Regions from separate parts of the Homo sapiens genome. Here all the other regions are linked to region 3. Evidence: promoter capture Hi-C in 16 types of primary human blood cells and fetal thymus (Javierre and others, 2016). All regions are on one chromosome and are shown on one strand. Each heading gives the region's core, a stretch centred on a gene start or on the middle of the fragment in contact. The rest is flanking DNA. Distances are from core to core; before and after follow the strand shown. Region 1 overlaps SGF29 (SAGA complex associated factor 29). Region 2 has its middle 5.3 kb from the start of NUPR1. Region 3 holds the start of NPIPB7 (nuclear pore complex interacting protein family member B7).

Region 1 (4,547 bases), core at 1,378-3,877, 110 kb before region 3:
TGGGTGGAAGGACCTCATCCTTTCTGAAAGGCTGAACCCAAAGACAGACCCCTGCATGGCCTTGAAGCCCCAGGAAGCCTCTGTGAAGTTAGTTTATGGGGATTCCAGGGTGGCAGGAACCCAAAGAACCCAGCAGAAGCAAACACAGAACTTGGCTGGAGTGAGGCTCCTTCATCCTAAAGCTCAGGGAATCTTCCCAAAGAGTATTTCCACAGCAGGGATGGGTGTGGTGGCTCACGCCTGTAATCTCAGCACTTTAGGAGGCTGAGGCAGGAGGATCACTTGAGGTCAGGAGATCGACACCAGCCTGGCCAACATAGAGAAACTCCTTCTCTACTAAAAATACAAAAATTAGCCCGGCGTGGTGGCGGGCGTCTATAATCCCAGCTACTTGGGAGGCTGAGGCAAGAGAATCGCTTGAACCTTGGGGGCAGAGCTTGCAGTGAGCCGAGATTGTGTCACTGCACTCCAGCCTGGGTGACAGAGCGAAACTCCATTTCAAAAAAAATACGTATTTCCACAGTAGTCAGCAGCACAAACTCCACTTTGGGTCATTTTATTTTCCTCTGATACCATGGCAAACCCCAGTCCATTCCTCTGGCAAGCCTTTCTGAAATGACCCGGAGTTCTAAAGACCTTTGTGCGGCAGGAAGGAGATGCACAGGAACTGGGTGTGATGCAGCATCTCGGGAGGTGTCCGGGGGTGCCCCAGGGCATGTGACTCATGGACCTCACCAGGCCAGGGCCAGAAGATGGAGGTAGGCCAAGGGCAGCCAAACCAACGCAGGGACAAGGAACAGCTTGCCTGCTGCGTACAATGCAGGGATGGCCCAGCCAGTGCCACCTCAGGCTGTGAGCACCGGGACCCCAGAAAGCAGAGAAGGAGAAAGAGCCACGGGGCCAAAGGGAACTCTGAGAGTCTCATCACTGTTGCCAGGCCTGTGTGGAGGATACAGTTTTATACAGCCTGTCCTAAACTGTCTTCTGTGACATGTTACTGAAGTGGCTTTCAAACCTTGGTGGGCATCAGAATCTCCTGGGGGAAGTTTAAAAAATCTCAATTGTTTCACGCACAAATCATAAATGGATGCTAAAACTAGTGTGTTTGATATGAACAGGATAGTTACAGTCTCAAAAGTATCTCCCAAGACACTTATTAATTATGCAATGGAGGCCAGGTGCAGAGGCTCACACCTGTAATCCCAGCACTTTGGGAGGCCAAGGTGGGTGGATCGCTTGAGCTGAGGAGTTCAAGACCAGCCTGGGCAACATGGCAAAACCCCTCTCTACAAAAAATACAAAAATTAGGTGGAGTGGTGGCAGGTGCCTATTGTCCCAGCTACTCAGGAGGCTGAGGCAGGAGGATCACTTGAGGCCAGGAGTTTGAGGCTGAAGTGAGCCATGATTACGCCACTCCACTCCAGCCTGGATGACAGACTGAGACCCTGTCTTAATCGATCAATCACACAATGGAAAATAGCAGTAATCTGATACAAGAGAAACGTGGAAAATACCACTTTAACCAATGGCACAGACAGCATCCTGTGCCGTCTAATATGACCCACCAGAGACACCTCTTCTGTGCCAAAAGTGTAAAGCATGAATCCTACTAGTGAGGAAATGTCAGATAGTTAATACCAATGTTGGAGCTCCACCCCAAATAAACAGAGCCTCTGGGCACAGTCAGACTTCAGAACCAGTGTGTTCTCAAAGTAGAGGAATGTAATGTTCAAGTTCCTGAATCTCCTGCAGAGATTCAAGGAAACAGTGTTTCCAGATCATTTTTTTATTTTAGTTTTTTTTTTTTTTTTGAGGCAGAGCCTTGCTCTGTTGCCCAGGCTGGAGTGCAGTGGCACGATCTTAGCTCACTGCAACCTCCGCCTCCTGCCTCAGCCTCCCAAGTAGCGTGCGCCACCACACCTGGCTAATTTTTGTATTTTTAGTAGATATAGGGTTTCGCTATGCTAGCCAGGCTGGTCTCAAACCCCCAACCTCAGGTGATCCACCCACCTTGCGATTGCAGGCATGAGCCACTGTGCCTGCCCGGCCTTAAGATTATTTTAAAAGCAGGAGTTTTCTGGAAGTGAAACTTCTCCATCTCAGAACCATAAAACCTTCAGGTCATCTGAGTATGACTTCCCAGCCAAGCTTACAGACACATGCCACCACGCTCAGCTAATTAAAAACTTTTTGTAGAGACAAAGTCTCACTTTGTTGCCCAGGCTGGTCTCAAACACCTGCGTTCAAGTGATCCTCTAACCTCGGCCTCCCAATCACCTCTGTAATGTTGTGATTACAGATCTGAGCTACCCAGCCCCTGATATCCCTATTTTAATGACTCTGCCAAGGTCATAGAGCCAGTAAACGGCAGTGTTGACTCACGCCTTGCCACCTTCTGTAAAGGCATTAGCAGCAGAGGTAACTGGAAGAGTGGGCCTGGCAGTGGGCCAGGGAATGCGGGACCCAAGCGAGAGGCTGGGAGTAGCAATCAGCTTATCCATGGGAGGAAGGCAGGCTGGGGACTTGGTCCAAATGGACCTGCAGCCCAGCCCCCAGGAAAGGAGGGAGCGGCGATGAAGTGGGTGCACGGTACTCACTTGCACTCAGCCTCTGCATCGGCCTTGGCGGTTGTGTAGAGGCCACGCAGCTTTGTCCGGTAATAGGGAGAAACTGCAGAGGAAACACAGGGATAAGGAGGCAGGGCCAGGGCAGGCACAGTAGCATGGCACTGCTTCCATGCACCGGAATCACACTCGTGGAGGCACAGAGAGGCCGTAGCTGCAGTCAGAGCTCTGCTGGCTCAGGAGTGCTCCTGAGGCGGATGCCCCCAGGCTCCATGAGTCCGCATTTCCATATGGTACAAATGCCATCCCTACATCTGCGAGAGTACTGTCTTACCTTTTCTCCATCATGACACTCACAGAAAATATTTGTCAGGACCCAGGAAAACACAATTCTCAGAGTTACCCAGAGTAAGAAAGCCCCAGCCCCAGGATCTCACCACCTGAGGGCCTCAGGGCAGATGCAGGGGCCGCCTGGGAAGGAAGCTCCTTTCTAGAAAACACCAGCTAACTGGGGCGCTTGTGTGCTCTAAGGGCAAGCTTCCCTAGATACAGCCTCATTTCACTGCCTTTCGAATCCTCAGAGTAGAGGGATTTTAGTTCTTCAGGTCACCCAGATTAACGGAAAGCTGTCCCTCCTGCTGCATTTTGGAATATGCAGATACATGCAAATCTATTTTGAATACAATGACCACCTCGGTCACAGTCTTGGCCATACTCACCCTAGCCCCATCTCATCCCCTTTCTCTCCTGAGCCCAGCTACTCACTCTTGTTCTCTGTCTGCATCCGCTCATGGGTCTTCTGGATGTTCACTAAGTTGTGTTCGCTCCGCGAACGCTCTTCCTGTAAGGAAAAGAGCAGCAGGACATGACGGTGGCCCTTTGTGCTGCTGTGGTACCCTGCCAGCCAGGCCAGAGTCCCCATCCCCAAAATACGGCCCTCATTTTCTTTTTTTTTTTTTTTTTTTGAGATGGAGTCTCACTCTGTCGCCCAGGCTGGAGTGTAGTGGCACGATCTCGGCTCACTGCAAGCTCCGCCTCCCGGGTTCACGCCTTTCTCCTGCCTCAGCCTCCCGAGTAGCTGGGACTACAGGCGCCCGCCACCACGCCTGGTTAATTTTTTGTAGTTTTAGAAGAGACGGAGTTTCACCGTCTTAGCCAGGATGGTCTCGATCTCCTGACCTCGTGATCCGCCTGCCTCGGCCTCCCAAAGTGCTGGGATTACAGGCGTAAGCCAATGCGCCCGGCCTAATTTTTTGTATTTTTAGTAGAGACAGGGTTTCGCCATCTTGGCCAGGCTGGTCTTGAACTCCTGACCTCGTGATCCACCTGCCTCGGTTTCCCAAAGTGCTGGAATTACAGGCAAGGGCGCCCGGCTATGGCCCTCATTTTCTAAATCCAAATTCAGGAGTTCAAGATGATTTTCTCCTTTGACTAATGCAAAAGCATTATAAAAGGCCTTAAAGGGCCTGGTGCAGTGGCTTAAGCCTGTAATCCCAGCACTTTGGAAGGCCAAAGTGGGCAGATCACTTGAGATCAGGAGTTCAAGACCAGCCTGGCCAACATGATGAAACCCCACCTCTACTAAAAATACAAAAATTAGCCGGGCATTGTAGCATGTGCGTATAGTCCTAGCTACTCGGGAGGCTGAGGTTGCAGTGAGCTGAGATCATGTCACTGCACTCCAGCCTGGGTGACAGAGTGAGACTGTTAAAAAAAAAAAAAAAAGAAGGCATTAAAGTTAAATCATAAGTGATATCTTTAATGATAGTCCTTTATCAAAGAGACAAATCAATCTATACAGTCAACGCAATCCCCATCAAAATTCTAATTGACTTCTTTGCAGAAATTGACAAGTTCATCCTAAAATTCATATGGAAATTCACGGGACCCAGATTATCCCCAATCTTGGAAAAAGAAAAAAAAAGTTGGAGAACTCATACTTCCCAATTTCAAAATTTATTACGAAGCTACGGTAATCACGAT
Region 2 (4,681 bases), core at 1,360-3,859, 72 kb before region 3:
ATGTGATCACATACTTATCTTGCTGGGATCACAGGCAAGAGCCACTGCGCCTGGCCCAAGTTTACTTTTTTTTTTTGGAAATGGAGTTTTGCTTTTGTTGCCCAGGCTGGAGTGTGATGGCGCCATCTCGGCTCACCGCAACCTCCGCCTCCCGGGTTCAAGCGATTCTTCTGCCTCAGCCTCCAGAGTAACTGGGACTACAGGTGCCCACTACCACGCTGGCTAATTTTTTGTATTTTTAGTAGAGACTGGGTTTCACCATGTTGGCCAGACTGGTCTCGAACTCCTGACTTCAGGTGATCCACCCGCCTCGGCCTCTCAAAGTGCTGGGATTACAGGCATGAGCCACCACGCCCGGCCCCATGTTTACTTTTATAGTCCCAGCACCAAGCAAGTGCCTGGCACATGGTTAGTACCCTAAACATTTGCAGACTGGAGAATGCATGCCTCTCTGGTCTTTACTTTCCTCTTCTGTTAAATGGGGTCGGGTTTGCTGATCTCCCAGAAGACATCAGTAATAAAATTTATTATTTTAGATTTTTTGCTTCTTTCTTTTCTTCTTTCTTTCTTTCCTTCCTTTTTTTTTTTTTTTTTTTTTTTTTTTTGTGTGTGTGTGTGTGTGACACAGAGTTTCGCTCTTGTTGCCCAGGCTGGAGTGCAATGGCGCAATTTCAGCTCACTGCAACCTCCACCTCCTGGGCTCAAGCAATTTTCCTGCCTCAGCCTCCCAAGTAGCTGGGATTACAGCCATGTGCCACCAAGCCCGGCTAATTTTGTATTTTTAGTAGAGACGGGGTTTCACCATGTTGGTCAAGCTGATCTCAAACCCCTGACCTCAGGTGATCCACATGCCTTGGCCTCCCAAAGTGCTGGCATTACAGGCATAAGCCACCGCGTCCAGCCTTATTCTAGGTTTTTCTACTACTGTGTTTTATGTGGCTGTCTATTTTAGTTGTCAGGAGAAAATGTCACACCTCTATTATGGTGAAAACTGTGTATTACTCATAGTTATCTATACATTTAATGCAAAAATATAATTTGTAGTGTACATGATGTTCTGCAACCTGTGTTTTTCATTAGGAATGTATTATGGACATCTTTCTCATCAGAGATAGAGATACATTCTCTCTCTAAAGAGTATTGAATGGCTACAGTGTTTCACAGAAGGAAACTGATCAGTCACCTACTGATGGACATTTAGGTTGTTTCCGATTTTTGGTTTTTGCTTTTTTTAGAGACAGGGTGTTGCTCTGTCGCCCAGGCTGGAGTGCAGAGGCACCATCATGGCTCAAGCCATCCTCCTGCCTCATCCTCCTGAGTAGCTGGGACTACAAGTACACACCACCATGCCAGTCTTTTTTTTTTTTTTTTTTTAAGATATGGGGTCTCGCTATGTTGCCCAGGCTGGGTTTCCTGTTTTTCACTACTACAAACAAATGAACTTCCTTGTACCTGCCTCTTTACTCACCTCTGGGAAGATTTCTGTAGGAGAGACTCCTGAAAGTGGGACTGCAATATCAGGGGGATATAAGCATTTCAAAATCTTATCAATGTTGCCAAACCACCCATTAAAGACAGCATCTGGCTGGGCGCAGTGGCTCATGCCTGTAATCCCAACACTTTGGAAGGCTGAGGCAGGCGGATCACCTGAGGTTAGGAGTTCGAAACCAGCCTGACCAACATGGTGAAACCCCGTCTCTACTAAAAATACAAAAATTAGCTGGGCATCATGGCATCTGCCTGTAATCCCAGCTACTAGGGAGACTGAGGCAGGAGAATCGCTTGAACCCGGGAAGCGGAGGTTGCAGCTAGCCGAGATTGCGCCACTGCACTCCAGCCTGGGCAACAAGAGCAAAACTCCATCTCAAAGAAAAAAAAAAAAAGACAGCATCCACTGATATTTAAAACGATGATATCACACAGCCAAGAAAACTTGCAAATGCAGCTGCCAGATTTGACATTTTTATCTGGGATGGGGTTGTGAGATCATATGGATATATTTTGTTTAACCTCATTTAGATTTCTTGTGTCCTCTTGGAACACAGCGATGTCCAATCCACCTTAATTACGTATTCTGCCTTCAGCCTGGGAAGCTTCTGTTCCTTTGAGCTAGTGACTTCGTACATCCCTCAGGCTATCCAACAGAGAGGAAGTCTTGCTGTGTTGCCTAGGCTGGAGTGCAGTGGTGCGATCATGGCTCACTGTAGCCTCAACCTCCTGGGCTCAAGTCATCCACCTGCCTCAGCCTCCTGAGTACTTGGAGCTACAGGCATGCACCACCACGCCTGGCTAACTTTTGGATTTTTTTTGTAAAGATGAGATCTCGCTATGTTGCCCAGGCTGGTCTTGAGTTCCTGGGCTCAAGCAGTCCTCCTGCCTCGGCCTCCCAAAGTGCTGGGATTACAGGTGTCAGCCTTTGCATCTGGCCCACAAACAGCCATTCTTGTTCAAACTTTGCCTCCAGGCCTGGCGTGGTGACTCACGCCTGTAATTCCAGCTATTTGGGAGGCCGAGGTAAGAGGACCACTTTAGCCAAGGAGTTCAAGACCAGTCTCGGCAACATAGGGAGACCTCATCTCTACAAAAAATAAAATTAGCTGGGCATGATGGTGCGTGCCTAAAGTCCCAACTACTTGGGAGGCTGAGGTGGGAGGATCCCCTGAGCCCTAGAGGTCGAGGCTACAGTGAGCAAGGTTGCTCCACTGTATTCAGCCTGGACGACAGAGTGAGAACCTGTCTCAAAAATAAATAAATAGGCCGGGTGCGATGGCTCATGCCTGTAATCCTAGCACTTTGGAAGCCGAGGCGGGTGGATGACTTGAGGTCAGGAGTTTGAAATCAGTCTGGCCAACATGATGAAACCCTGTCTCTACTAAAAATACAAAAATTAGCTGGGTGTAGTGGTGCATGCCTGTGATTCCAGCTACTCAGGAGACTGAGACAGGAGAATCGCTTGAACCCGGGACACGGAGGTTGCAGTGAGCCGAGATCGTGCCACTGCACTCCAGCCTGGGTGACAGAGCAAGACTCTGTCTCAAAAAAAAGAGAAAAAAAGAAAAAAGAAAAGAAAATTAAAATTAAATTAATTAATTAATTAAAAATAAAAGAATTAGAAAACAAGCTTCACCTCCTCCAGGAAGTGTGCCTTCATCTCCCTATCTCCAGAGAGGTTAGGTGCCCTCCTGGGAGCTCCCAGCCCTCTGCGTTTACTCCAAGCTGATGGCGCTGGGTTGTCATAGGTGTGCCTAGCAACGTCACGAAGGTGTAACTCTAAGCAGGAAGAAAATAAACTTCCTCGTGGCAGATTTTACATGCACCTGGAGGCTTGAGGATGGGAAAATGAAACCATCCCTGTAAACCTCATGCAATTAATCAGAGAACAGAGAGGAGAAATGGAAACAAGCCAGGCTTGCAGCACACCCAGCGCTGATCATGAGGTCAGCTGCCCCCTGATCTGCTTCCTCTTAGTTGTCTGGTGCCTGCTGTTCTAGAATCACGTAGACCTGGTTACAAGATCATAGTTCCCCTTAACTGCACTAGAGATAGCAACTTGAACGTTATGAAACATTAAATGTTACTTTTGAGAAATTCCTTCAGGTCCTGCGTGCCGGTGAAGCGACTGACTCCGCCAGCCTGAAGGACCCCACCAGGAGCTAACTCCCCAAAAATGTCTTTTTCACATCATGATGATTTCATTTCCCTTGCTCTGACCAATGACCCCAATTTTCTAGCCTCTCACCCTCCATAATCCCCTTAAAAGCCCCATCCCAGAATTCCCTGGGGAGATGCATTCGCAGGTCTCCTCCTATCCCCTTGCACAGTGCCCTGTGATCATGAAACTCTCTCTACTGCATCCCTGCTGTCCAGTGTAATAGGGCTGTGACAGGGCAGCAGGCATACAAATCTGCTGTTCCTGTAACAAAAAGCACACCTCTACGTCTAGATGGAGCCACGTCTAGAGCCCTGCAGATCCATGCTAGAGGGGTTCCAGCAGGCTGGAGTACAATGGCGTGATCTCGGCTCACTGCAACCTCTGCCTCCTGGGTTCAAGAGATTCTTCCGCCTCAGCCTCCCGAGTATCTTGAATTACAGGTGCATGCCTCCACGCCCAGCTAATTTTTGTATTTTTAGTAAAGACGGAGTTTCACCATGTTGGCCAAGCTGGTCTTGAACTCCTGACCTGGTGATCCACCCGCCTCGGCCTCCCAAAGTGCTGGGATTACAGGCGTGAACTACCGCGCCTGGCCCTTTTTTTTGTTTTGTTTTGTTTTTTGAGATGGAGTCTCGCTCTGTCGCCCAGGCTGGAGTGCAGTGGCGCGATCTGGGCTCACTGCAAGCTCCGCCTTCCGGGTTCATGCCATTCTCCAGCCTCAGCCTCCCCAGCAGCTGGGACTACAGGTGCCCGCCACCACACCCGGCTAATTTTTGTATTTTTAGTAGAGACGGGGTTTCACCATGTTGGCCAGGCTGGTCTCCAACTCCTGACCTCAGGTGACCCACCCAACCTCGTCGGCCTCCCAAAGTGCTGGGATTACAGGCGTGAGCCACCATGCCCTTCCTCCTTCTCTCATAGGCTTCTTTCTTCCAGCACCTGTAAGATCAAGGCCAGGGAGACCTCCTTCCCTGGCTCCATCTGGGACAATCACAGTGTTTCTGTGGTCCCCTGTGAGGCTACAATTCG
Region 3 (4,085 bases), core at 438-2,937:
GTGCTGGGATTACAGGCATGAGCCACCGTGCCCAGCCTCTTTTCCGTTTTTGTTTTTTTTTTTTCCTTTGGTTGTCTGGTTTGGTTTTTATTATAGCCTTTCTAGTGAGTGTGAAGTGGTATCTCACTGTGGTTTTGATTTGCATGTCCCTGGTGACTAATGATGCTGAGCATCTTTTCATGTCCTTATTGACCGTACATATAGTTCTTTGAGAAATGTCTTCTCAGATCCTTTGCCCATTTTTAAATGGGATTGTCTTTTTTTATTAAAGAGCCAGAGATCTGAAGTCTTTTTGAGTTGTAAGATTTCTTCATATATTCTAGACAGAAGTCCCTTATAAGATACATGATTTGCAAATATTTTCTCCCATTCTGTGTTGTCTTTTTACTTTTTTGATATTGTCTTTTGGTACGGAAAGACACTTATTTTGATGAAGTCCAATTTATCTATTTTTTGTTTGGTTGCTTGTGCTTCTGGTAACATATCTAAGTGGGAGCCAGGTGCAGTGGCTCATGCCTGTAATCCCAGCACTTTGGGAGGCCAAGGCGGGAGGTTTGCTTGAGACCAGGAGTTCAAGACCAGCATGAGCAACATTGCAAGGTTCTATCTCTATAAAAAATTAAAATAATGATAAAAGGAGGCCGGGCGTGGTGGCTCATGCCTATAATCCCAGCATTCTGGGAGGCAGGAGGACAACTTGGGCCAGGAGTTCAAGACCAGTCTGGGCATCATGGCAAAAAAAGAAAAAAGAAAAAATTATCCTGGCAAGGTATGCCTGTAGTCCCAGCTACTTGGGAGGCTGAGGCGGGAGAATTGCTTGAGCCCGAGAGGTGGAGGTTGTAGTGAGCTGAGATTGAACCATTGCACTCCAGCCTGGGTGACAGGAATGAAACCCTGTCTCAAAAAATAAAAATAAAATAAGCCAGGTGTAGTGCTGCGTGCCTGTACTCCCAGCTACTCTGGAGGCTGAAGTGGGAGGATCACTTGAGCCTAGGAATTCGAGGCTGCAGTGAGCTATGATCATACCACTGCACCCCAATGTGGGCACAGAGCAAGACCCTATCTCTTAAAAAACAAACAAAGAGGGGCGGGGTGCAGTGGCTCACGCCTGTAATCCCAGCACTTTGGGAGGCTGAGGCGGGCAGATCACGAGGTCAGGAGATCGAGACCATCCTGCCTAACACGGTGAAACCCCATCTCCTTTTTTTTTTTTTTTTTTTTTGAAACAGAGTTTCATTCTTTTTGCCCAGACTCCCGGGTTCAAGCGATTCTCCTGCCTCAGCCTCCTGAGTAGCGGGGATTACAAGGGTGTGCCACCACACCCAGCTAATTTTTTATATTTTTAATAGAGGCGGGGTTTCACCGTGTTGGCCAGGCTGGCCTCAAACTCCTGACCTCAAGTGATCCGCCCACCTCGGCCTCCCAAAGTGCTGGGATTACAGGCGTGAACCAGCGCGCCCAGCCTCCTACATTTTCTTCTAAGAGTTTTATAGTTTTAGCTCTTACATTTAGATCTTGTTTTCATTTTGAATTAACTTTTTTGCAGGTGGTGTGATACAGCAGTCTGTGCAGAAAAAAGTTAACATAGTAGACCCTAACTGCTAACTTTATTTTTACTTTTATTTTTTATTTTGTTTAGAGACAGGGTTTTTGTCACCCAGGATGGAGTGAAGTGGCGTGATCATAGCTCACCGTAACCTTGAACTCCTGGGCTCCTCTGCCTCAGCCTCCCAATTAGCCACCACACCCAGCTACCTTTTGTACATTTTTTTGGTAGAGACGGTGTCTCACTATGTTGCCCAGTCTGGTCTCAAACTCCTCAGCTCAAATGATCTGCCCACCTTGACCTCCAGAGATACTGGGATTACAGGCGTGGGCCACTGCACCAGACCCAGGTTTATTCTTACACCAATACAACACTGTCTTAATTACTATAGCTTTGTAGTGAGCTTTTGAAAATAGGAAATGTGAATCCTCCAACTTTTTTTTTTTGGAGACGGAGTCTCGCTCTGTTGCTCAGACTGGAGTGCAGTGGCACTATCTCAGCTCACTGCAAACTCCATCTTCCAGGTTCAAGTGATTCTCCTGCCTCAGCCTACCAAGTATCTGGGACTACAGGCAGGTGCCACCATGCACAGATTCCTTGGACATCCCTGAGAGGTCAATCATGAAGGTCAACTTGGTTTTCTCCCCCTCATTTGGGTTCAGAATTTAAAGTCCACACACACAGGCAGTAAGATGATTATAGATAAGGACATCATCACTCGGTTTCGGATGTTAAATTGTCTAGGTGGGTTAGGGGTGATTTGAGATCACACAACCTTGTGCCACAAAGAGGAATTCCCAGGCCAGAGGGAGACATTTTATTGCCATGTTATGATCTTATCATTGAGTTGAAAGGCAATCTTGTTTCATTTTGGATTCTTTCTTATGTTTATGTCTTATAAGGGCACTTTGAATTTCCAAGCAAATAATAATTTTGAATTAGCTTTTAATCATTGACTTCTAGCACAGTTATATGATCAGAAACGTGCTGTGTGATTTGATTGCTCTCAAATATATTGAGATTTGCTGGAACAAAATAAGTCAGGTTAATTTTTGTAAATGTACCATGCTTGCTTAAAATGAATGTATCTACATTTGTTCCTGAGATACGGGTTGATGGACGGATGGCTACATGGATGTGATGGAGATGGTTTACTATCGGGACCTTCCGCATCCTGCTGATGTTTTGTTGCTTAGGATATGAATGGCTGAGCGGAGGCTGTAAAACCTGGCACTCTGCTTGGGTATGAGGTTCTTCCTGCCATCCTGCCATCATTTGTTTTTTATGTTTTGTCGCCAAAAGTGACCTTGAGGAACCCTGGGAGCTCAGGAAGGAAGGAGCGCCCAGAAGCAGGGACAGGGAGCTGGTTGGGGAGGACCAGAAATCAGGTTTGTGAAGGTTCCAGAGAGGACCTGTCCTTGCGAGGAGTGTGGGAGACTGAGATGGGGGAGGGGTCATTGGAATGATGCGGGCGCTACTTGGCATTGTCCATTGTGAGGCACCACCGGGGTCATCAGGGATTGGTGGAGAGGGAGTATAAAGCCCCAGGTTTGCTAAGGGAGGGCCCAGACCGAAGAAGGTTTGGCGGATAGCAGAACCTTTTTGTCTCCCTCTAATTGCTCCTAAGCCTCACGCTCCCTTGCCCCGCGTGTCCTGTTGCTTCCCTGATCTTCTCCGTGACCTGTAGCTAAACCTTCCACCAGCGCTTGAGAACTTAATTTGAACCGGATCCTTTCCCAGACCCCTTTCTTCTTCTCCTCCTCCACCTCCTCCAGGTGCCCAACAGCCCCCTTCTCCTCCTTTCCCTTCCCTTACTTCCCCCCTTCCCCTCCCCTTCCCCTCCCCCTCCCCTCCCCTTCCCCTCCCCTTCCCCTTCCCCTCCCCCTCCCCTTCCCCTCCCCCTCCCCTTCCCCTCCCCCTCCCCTCCCCCGCCCCAACTCAGATCCGGCCCCGGTCCCCGTCCCCTTCCCTCCCCCCTGCCCTAAGCCACCTCCACCTCTGTCCTGGCCGCCTCAGGGCACCCTGAAAGGATCAGGACATGCGGCTGCGCTTTTGGCTCCTCATTTGGCTCCTGCTGGGATTTATCAGCCATCAGCCCACCCCTGTGAGTAGACGCTGGACCCGCGGGGTTTCTTCCTTTTTACTGGGCTGTGTCACGCGGCATGAAATTACACAGCTCAGGCCTGTAATCCCAGCACTTTAGGGGGCCGAGGTGGGCAGATCACTTGAGTCCAGGAGTTGAAGACTAGCCAGGGCATCATGGCGAAACCCCATCTCTACAAAAAATTCCAAAAAAGATTAGTCGGGCCTGGTGGTGCGTACCTGTTATCCCAGTTACTGGAGAGGCTGAGGTGGGAGGATCGCTTGGGCCGAGGAGCTGGACGTTGCAGTGAGCTGAGATGGCCCCGCTGCACTCTTGTCTCTAACAAACAAAATGGACCAAAACAAAGTGAAATGTCATTTGATTTGTGTCATCTGGTTTGATGACTTTTTTTTTTTTTTTTTTAGACAGAGTCTCACTCTGTCGCCCAGGCTGGAG

Evidence for each region. Contacts are between HindIII fragments. The CHiCAGO score rates a contact against its expected background, and 5 or more counts as called.
Region 1: a contact is called between a fragment that was not itself captured here and the fragment with the promoter of NPIPB7 in region 3, in 2 of 17 cell types (M2 macrophages and monocytes). The highest score is 6.2, in M2 macrophages.
Region 2: a contact is called between a fragment that was not itself captured here and the fragment with the promoter of NPIPB7 in region 3, in 12 of 17 cell types (monocytes, M0 macrophages, M2 macrophages and 9 more). The highest score is 13.2, in monocytes.

What each region holds. Positions count from the first base shown.
Region 1 is chr16:28,583,771-28,588,317 of GRCh38, reverse strand. It overlaps SGF29 (SAGA complex associated factor 29), which reads right to left. Exons shown (of 10, transcript NM_138414.3): 3 at 3,330-3,405; 4 at 2,598-2,670. Among named protein-coding and RNA genes, the nearest start is that of SULT1A2, 11 kb to the left of the region's middle. The HindIII fragment of the contact is 953 bases long and covers 2,151-3,103 here.
Region 2 is chr16:28,541,939-28,546,619 of GRCh38, reverse strand. No RefSeq gene overlaps it. Among named protein-coding and RNA genes, the nearest start is that of NUPR1, 5.3 kb to the right of the region's middle. The HindIII fragment of the contact is 1,028 bases long and covers 2,096-3,123 here.
Region 3 is chr16:28,469,938-28,474,022 of GRCh38, reverse strand. NPIPB7 (nuclear pore complex interacting protein family member B7) reads left to right here and starts at 1,687. Exons shown (of 7, transcript NM_001396030.1): 1 at 1,687-3,650. The coding sequence starts at 3,585. It also overlaps a transcript of CLN3 not described here. RefSeq lists a silencer at 128-197. The HindIII fragment of the contact is 21,132 bases long and covers 1-4,085 here.